Regions from separate parts of the Homo sapiens genome. Here all the other regions are linked to region 2. The links are contacts of gene promoters, found by promoter capture Hi-C in human tissues and cell types (Jung and others, 2019). All regions are on one chromosome and are shown on one strand. Each heading gives the region's core, a stretch centred on a gene start or on the middle of the fragment in contact. The rest is flanking DNA. Distances are from core to core; before and after follow the strand shown. Region 1 has its middle 30 kb from the start of TRIML2. Region 2 holds the start of TRIML1 (tripartite motif family like 1). Region 3 has its middle 26 kb from the start of LINC02434.

The links. The method cuts DNA at HindIII sites, captures the fragments that hold promoters and counts their contacts. A contact is called where the count stands out against the background at its distance.
Region 1: a contact is called between a fragment that was not itself captured here and the fragment with the promoter of TRIML1 in region 2, in 4 of the 25 tissues and cell types used here (H1 embryonic stem cells, heart left ventricle, neural progenitor cells and 1 more).
Region 3: a fragment that was not itself captured here is called in contact with the fragment with the promoter of TRIML1 in region 2 in 3 of the 25 tissues and cell types used here (adrenal gland, heart left ventricle and psoas muscle).

What each region holds. Positions count from the first base shown.
Region 1 is chr4:188,078,232-188,080,931 of GRCh38, forward strand. No RefSeq gene overlaps it. Among named protein-coding and RNA genes, the nearest start is that of TRIML2, 30 kb to the right of the region's middle. The HindIII fragment of the contact is 3,588 bases long and covers 1-2,700 here.
Region 2 is chr4:188,138,055-188,140,754 of GRCh38, forward strand. It overlaps TRIML1 (tripartite motif family like 1), which reads left to right and starts at 1,387. Exons shown (of 6, transcript NM_178556.5): 1 at 1,387-1,912; 2 at 2,474-2,569. The coding sequence starts at 1,505. The HindIII fragment of the contact is 25,840 bases long and covers 1-2,700 here.
Region 3 is chr4:188,185,193-188,187,892 of GRCh38, forward strand. No RefSeq gene overlaps it. Among named protein-coding and RNA genes, the nearest start is that of LINC02434, 26 kb to the left of the region's middle. The HindIII fragment of the contact is 3,842 bases long and covers 1-2,700 here.

The DNA of each region.
Region 1 (2,700 bases), core at 6-2,505, 60 kb before region 2:
TAGCCTAGGAAGCCAAATGTTTAGTTAGACACAAGTTTAGGGAAACATTTGAGTATTGCTGGAGGACAAAAGCACTCACTAAATAACCAGTGGCTGATTACCGGCCTCTGGACCATGGCCAGTTGGAATAGCTCCATGTCATTCTTTCTTTCTTTCTCTTTTTTTTAAGTTTTGTTATTACAAGAATAATTTTCTATATTAGACTGTTTTCACTTTATTAACTTTATCATAAGTATGCCAACTTCTGCAAACTTGGAGCAATTGCAATAATCTATTGATTTATTTTCACCAAATTTTCACTTTATTTGCCCAGAATTCAAGCTTGTCTGTTAATTTCCCAGGTCTTCAATGACTTGTCTCTTATTGGCTAGCATCTCCTTATTTTCCTTGTTCAATTAGTAAGGTTTTCCTTATTATATTACTTTTTTGGGGGGCCTTTCTCTGTTAGTATATAGATTTTCTCCTGAGAGCTAAAAATCTTCATAACACCTTAGTCAATATACCTTTGAAAAAACCCCTTATATTGGCTGGTTGCGGTGGCTCACACCTATAATCTCAGCACTTTGGGCGGCCGAGATGGGCAGTTCACCTGAGGTCAGGAGTTTGAGACCAGCCTGGCCAACAAGGTGAAACCCCGTCTCTACTAAAAATACAAAAATTAGCTGGATGTGGTGGCAGGCACCTGTAATCCCAGCTACTCGGGAGGCTGAGGCAGGAGAACTGCTTGAACCTGGGAGGCAGAGGTTGCAGTGAGCCAAGATCACACCACTGCACTCCAGCCTGGGTGACAAGAGCGAGCAAAACTCTGTCTCAAAAAAAAAAAAAATCCCTTATATTATAATTGTCATTGAAATAATCTGACATTCCTAGTAACCTCTGACACTAAAATTTTCTTCGCTTTTAATAGAAACACAATTCATCATTTATCCATTATCCATTGTTTTGAATTTAATTTAATTCACCAAAATAATACATATATTTTAGTACCAAAGATCAAAAAGTGCTCGAAGGTTTATAATTAAAAAAAAAAAATCCTCTCTTCTCCCCCATTCCGGCTATCTAGATACAGTCATGTCCAACTCTCAGTTCTTTCTTATAGAATATGCATGATATTCCCTCATCTTTCATTTAAGTTAAGGAATATCATGTATATTCTATAAGAAACAGAATGAGGCATTCTATTTCTATTTCCTTAGAAATAGAAATTGGAAATAGAAATCTAAATTGGAAAGATTGGCCAGTTGCAGTGACTCACACCTGTAATCCCAGCACTTTGGGAAGCCAAGGTGGAGGACTGCTTGAGTCCAGAAGTTTGAGACCAGCCTGGGCAACAGAGCAAGACACCATCTCTACAAAAAGGTAAACAATTAGCTGGGCGTGGCGGTGCAAGCCTGTAGTCCACGCTACTTGGGAAGCTGTGGTAGAAGAATCCCTTGAGTCCAGGAATTCAAGGCTGCAGAATGGGCAGAATGACTGTGCCACTGCACTCCAGCCTGGGTAACAGGGTGAGACCCTGTCGAAAGAAAAGAAAAAAAAAAAGAAAGAAAAGAGAAAGAAAGAAGGATTATCTTTTACCTTTTACTTGCTACAGATAACTTCCCTGCCACCTCATTCCAATATAGTCAAAGCAACATTTTATTAAGCCATCAACACCTTTGTTTTTTATGGAGTTAACAGTTCTCTCTATATATATTTAGTTTTTTTTTCCTAGTGTACCAAACACAGATTCATCCCTTATACTGTCCTATGGAGCTATAAAGCTTTTCTTGACATAGCCAAACGGCTAGGAAATAATCAATTCTATTTATTTTTTCCTTCAAGGTACCCTTCTGTGAATCTTCCACCTTTTGTTCTAATTAGGGCCAACTGATGCTGTCGTCCTGGGAATTTTCCCATTCACCATCACTTTGCTAATTCCTTCACCTCTTTGCTTTCCTGTACTCAGGAGACATCCTTGGCAAAACTTAATGGTTGCTGGGTCATGATGAAATATTATAGGCATACTAGAGAAGCTGCTTGATTAAGTAGCCATCAGTTCGACAAAACAAAAAACAAAAACAAACAAAAGCTAATTTGTAGAGTTTTTTAGATAAAATTGTCCTGTGAAACTTCAAAATCAAGCTTCCTCATCTGTTCATTAATGCTGAGATCTTTGTTTTGTTCCTTCAGGTAAGGCAAATACCCGACATACAGGGATTGTTTAATAAACACTTTCTGGGTTTCTTGTTCATTCATTTAACGCCTTTGCCATCATGGGGTTTCCATTCCAGACAGGAAGTTAAATACATAATGTTAAATCAGGTCATGATTAATGCTACAAAGAAAATAATGTAGGGTAAGAGGTAAGAGAATGAGTGGGGATTGGAGAGAATGTTCAGGGAGGGCGCTCTTTGTGGAGGACAGATCAAGAAAGGCCTGTGTGGTGGCAGCCAGCTGGAGCCTAGCACTGCGGTCCAGATGAAAGATCACAGCCTCAACTAGTGTGGTCAAAGGGAGGATGGCGAGTGTTTGCTGAGGGACATATATGGATGGTAGAGCTGACAGTCTTTGCTGATAGATTGAACACAGAATGGCAGCAAAATAAAGGATGGCTCCAAAGTCTGTGCTGTCAGAATGAGCCCCTGAAGCTTTTAGAATGCACGGGGTGCCTGCGAGGGTGGCACATTTGGGAATCTAGTTGGCTCTGACTGAAGCTATGGA
Region 2 (2,700 bases), core at 137-2,636:
CAGTAGTATAACTCTTTGCTCTTATTTTTTCATAGCTTAAATTCTCATCCTAGCAATTCACGTATGCTTTACAAGGGATGTATAGGATTGAAACATTTTGAATTAATGATTTCAGAAAGGTGAGTTTTGACTAGGAGAAAGGAAGGTGGAGGAAAAAACATTCTCAGCCAGAAAACTTCTTTTTCCCAAAGTTCAAGATAAGAAAACATCCAACATCCTGTTGGAGGTAAGTGGGAAAGAAGTAGCAGTTGGAGCCTTGAAAGTCAGAAACCAATGAACGGAACAGCCTGAGTAATGGACCCGACTCGTGGAAGGCTGCCAAGCTGGAGAGTGAGGGGACGGAGACAGAAATATGGCGTGATGAGTTCGTGGGAAGGTCAAACTCGCTGGCCTTTGAGGAAGAGCTTTTGAGGTGCAACTTCCTGGCATGCAGTGAGCAGAAGGCAGGCCAGGACAGGAGCTGACTCCCGAGCAGGGGACACAGTGAATTTGTGGCATTTGTTACCAATCTCGGAGTTCACTGTGCACAGTCTCCACACTAGGCATTTACTTTTTCATATGTCCGAAAAAATGTCTGCACACTTCATTTCTGTCCAGTAAGAACTGATAATCAGGGATTTGAAGGGGCCTAGTTTGGAAATTTTCAATGGGTGAAAATAAGTGAGCAAAATTACATTTATACTAAAATATAATTCTTTCCATCTGCTCCATAGTGGGATAGCCTCTTGAGGCAACTTCCAATTAGAATGTCATTTTAGATGCTTTCCAAGATGGCAGATGGGTGAGTACTAGGGTGTGCAGGGAAGATCAATAAACAGCTCTGGCAATTCATCGTGCGCCTAACACCAAGGAATACTTCAGTGGAAGAGCTCTCATTTTGTTGGGATGAATAAAATTAAATAAAAGTACACAGTACCCAATAAAGGAACAAAAGCTTAGGCTTTGGTCAAGCAGAACAAAAGGGGCTAATGAGAAAAGGACTATGTATTACAGTTTTCTTCTCTCAGTTCTCAACTAGGTTTTATTAGTGGAGTTCCCAAAAGATTTGGACCAAATTTCCAATTCAGATATTATTAGAGATCATCAAAACTCAAATCTCTTTACTGGTTTACACCAAATCACCCAAGCTTCCAGCCTAAAACCCACATGCTCACATGGTTCCACAGTGCTGTTTATGTACAATAACCAGTTCTCAAAATGGTAATCCTGTTAGAAGCCAGAATCCTCAGCCTCTAGCATGTGTGCTTTTCACAGAGATAAGTCTCAAAGTTTGGGGTTGGTGAGGAGCCCAGTATACAGGAGTTCCACATTAAGTCATAATTGGCTTTGTGTTGGACAGTGTATGTCAGCTGGTGAAATCAGGCACAGAAGAGATAAGGGTTTCTTGTCATAACAACATAGGAACAGGTCACCCGCGTGTTACTCAAAACTGTAGGACGGCAGTGAGGGCTTTGCTAATCCCAGAACAGAGGTGTAACCTGGCTGCATATCCAGCCTCGAGAAAATGTCTACAGCAGATCTGATGGAGAACCTCAGGGAGGAACTCACCTGTTTCATCTGCTTAGACTATTTCAGCAGCCCAGTGACCACCGAGTGTGGGCACAGCTTTTGTCTGGTGTGTCTCCTCAGGAGCTGGGAGGAACATAACACACCTTTATCTTGTCCTGAGTGCTGGAGGACCTTGGAGGGCCCGCATTTCCAGTCAAACGAGCGTCTGGGGAGGCTGGCCAGCATCGCCAGGCAGCTCCGGTCCCAGGTGCTGCAGAGCGAGGATGAGCAGGGCAGCTACGGGAGGATGCCCACCACTGCCAAGGCGCTCTCCGATGACGAGCAGGGTGGAAGCGCCTTCGTAGCCCAGAGCCATGGTGCAAACAGAGTGCATCTCTCCAGCGAGGCTGAGGAGCATCACAGAGTAAGACAGCTGCTCAGCATGAACCCCACGACTCATCGCAGCTAACTCCGTTAGCTTTCCTGACGTTTCCTAACGTCCTCTGTGGGGGACAGTCACGAGGGCCCATCTGAGCACCACATCACAAACTGGCGTGGGTCCAGTTTACACCCTTTTTTTTCCCTTTTTTTGTTTTTGAGACAGAGTTTTGCTCTGTTGCCCAGGCTGGAGTGCAGCAGTGCGATCTCAGTCACTGCAACCTCCGCCTCCCAGGTTCACGCCATTCTCCTGCCTCAGCCTCCCCAGTAGCTGGGACTACAGTCACCCACCACCACGCCCGGCTAATTTTTTGTATTTTTAATAGAGACGGGGTTTCACCATGTTGGCCAGGCTGGTCTTGAACTCCTGACCTCAGGTGATCCGCCTGCCTCGGCCTCCCAAAGTGCTGGGATTACAGGCGTGAGGCGCCGCACCCAGCCTGCCCTTTGTTTTAGAGGCCTAGGACTGCGCAGTTACTGGTCTTCAAAGCCCCTTCATGACCTGGGACTCTGCTCATTTGCCAGAAAGGGTTTGTTTCTATTGCAGGAGAAACTCCAGGAAATCCTGAATCTTTTGCGTGTAAGGAGAAAGGAAGCTCAGGCTGTACTAACCCATGAGAAGGAGAGAGTGAAACTGTGCCAGGTCGGTGTCTGTCTGACTTTTGCTGCTTGTATATGACCCCATAAGGGGGACTAAAGGGAAATTTAGTGAAATATCAGGAAAAAAAAAAGACAAATTTTTCCAGTCTCACCTCTAAAATATGCAGTTTCCTT
Region 3 (2,700 bases), core at 42-2,541, 47 kb after region 2:
AATTCGTAATAATCAGTAAAAGGCAATTTAATATTTAATGAAATCTCATGATACACCTAATACATAGGTAAATATGACCAGGATATAGAACAAGGATGTCCCTGGGGCAGTTGCTAAGAGTGTGAATTGGTGCAATGACTTTCAAAATCAATTTGGCATTATCTTGTAAACTGAATGTGAGTATGCCCAATTCTAGTATGTGCTGTAGGAAAAATGTCTACCCCTTTGCACAAGGAATCATACAAAATAATGTTTCTAGGAGCATTGTTAATAATAGCAAAAGACAAGAACAAAACCTTGCAAGTAACCAAATGTCTATTGGGTCTATTTGTGGGAAAATGGATAAAGAAATTGAGGTTTATTCATGAATTGGACACTATATAATGGTGAAAATGAATAAACTTGAATTACACATGTCAGGGTGATCGAAACTCAGAAAGTTAATACATTGTGGAAGCAAGTTGTGGAAAGATATGCAGCATGATACTGTATTATAAATTCAAAGCCAAGCACACTAGGCAGTGTATTAACAGCTGTGCAACACGTATGTGAATGGAACTCTTGGAGAAAACCCAGGGCCAGGGATGAAGTAACAGAAGCGAACAGGAGCTTCAGAGATAACAGTGACGTTCCATGTCTTAGTGTGGGTGAAGGGGTCAATGGTGTTTGTTTCATGAAAATCTATCTCTATCTGCTATCTGTCTGTCTGTCTGTCTATCTATCTATCTCTCTATCTATCTATCTTCTATCTAATCTTATCTATCCATCCTATCTACAGATGTATATGTTTGTGTGTATATAAATATACATCTGTCACAAACATTCTCTTATGTGTATCAAATATTTTCATAATAAAAACATTTACAAAATCTCCTACTCTTTCTAGTCCTGTTATTCCATAGTTTCCCCTTCTGTGTCTTGTTTTGTAAACTTAATGTGTGGGCCAGGTGCAGTGGCTCACGCCTATATTCCCAGCACTTTGGGAGGCTGAAGCGGGTGGATCACCTGAGGTCAGGAGTTCGAGAGCAGCCTGGTCCAACATGGTGAAACCCTGTCTCTACTAAAAATACAAAAATTAGCTGGGTGTGGTTGTGGGTGCCTGTAATCCCAGCTACTCAGGAGGCTGAGGCAGGAGAATCACTTGAACTTGGGAGGCTGAGGTTGCAGTGAGCTGAGGTGGCACCACTGCACTCCAGCCTGGGGGACAAAGTGAGACTCCATCTCAAACAAAAATAAAAAAAGAAAATAAAAAAATAAACTTAATGTGTGGATGTTGTTCCTTCCCAGTATACATTATTTTCCTCCAGCTTTATTTAGGTATAATTGATAAATTAAAATTATATATATTCAAGTAATACAATATGGTAATTTGAGATATGTTTACATTGTGAAATGACCACAGTCAAGTTATTTAACAATCATCATCACACATAGTTACCTCTGTGTGTGTGTGTGTGTGTGTGTGTGTGTGTATTATGTGTATGTGGTTAGGACACCTAAGATCTACTGTCTCAGACAATTTCAAGTATTCACTGCCTCCTTGTATATATGGATGCAGTGTATACTTGAAATTGTCTAAGAGAGTAGAAGCTTTTTATCTTCTGTCTTTCTTTTTCTTTTTTTTGAGACGGAGTCTCTCTCTGTCGCCCAGGCTGAAGTGCAGTGGTGTGATCTCGGCTCACTGCAACCTCCGCCTCCCAGGTTCATGCCATTCTCCTGCCTCAGCCTCCGAGTAGCTGGGACTCAACGCCCGGCTAATTTTTTGTATTTGTAGTAGAGACGGGGTTTCACCGTGTTAGCCAGGATGGTCTCTATCTCCTGACCTCTTGATCCGGACCCTTCTGCTGTTAAAGCTTGAAACTTGTATTCATTTTATCTGAGTTAGGTCCTCAGGAAAGAACCTTCAGTCCTCTCAAAAAAAAGTGTCGAAGAACTGAAACTCACCAGATCATATGCCTTCTTGTTTTCTTACACATTGTTATATTTATTTCCTGCTGTATAAATCCCTAGTTGTAGTCAGTCAGGGAGAGGATTTGAGACTGAGCTCCCATCTCCTTGGCTGCAGCATCCCATTAAAAACTTCTTCCTTGGCAATACTTGTTGATTGGCTTTCTGTGCAGTGAGAACAGGACCTAGACCAAATCCCTGGTGTTTTGGCAACAAAATGATGTGTAAAATCTCTATGCAGATAGCTATAAAACATTGCTCAGAGAAAGAAATACTGCACAATTTTAGGTTTTTTTTTTTTTTTAGATGGAGTCTTGCTCTGTCGCCCAGGCTGGAGTACATTGGTGCAATCTCAGCTCATTGCAACCCCTTTCTCCCAGGTTCAAGCAATTCTCCTGTCTCAGCCATGCAAGTAGCTGGGATTACAGGCTCCCACTATCATGCCTGGCTAATTTTTGTATTTTTAGTACAGATGGGGTTTTACCATGTTGGCCAGGCTGATCTTGAACTCCTGACCTCAAGTGACCCACCCACCTTGGCCTCCCGAAGTGCTGAGATTACAGGTATGAGCCACCTCCCCCAGCCAGGTCTTTCTTAATTAATTCAAGGTGGACTATATATCCAAACATAATTGCTAAAACTATAAAGCTTTTCAAAGAAAGCATAGGAGAATATCTTTGTTACCTTTTAGTAGGCAAAGATTGCTTACACAGAACTTGGGAAGCACACACACACACACACACACACACAAAC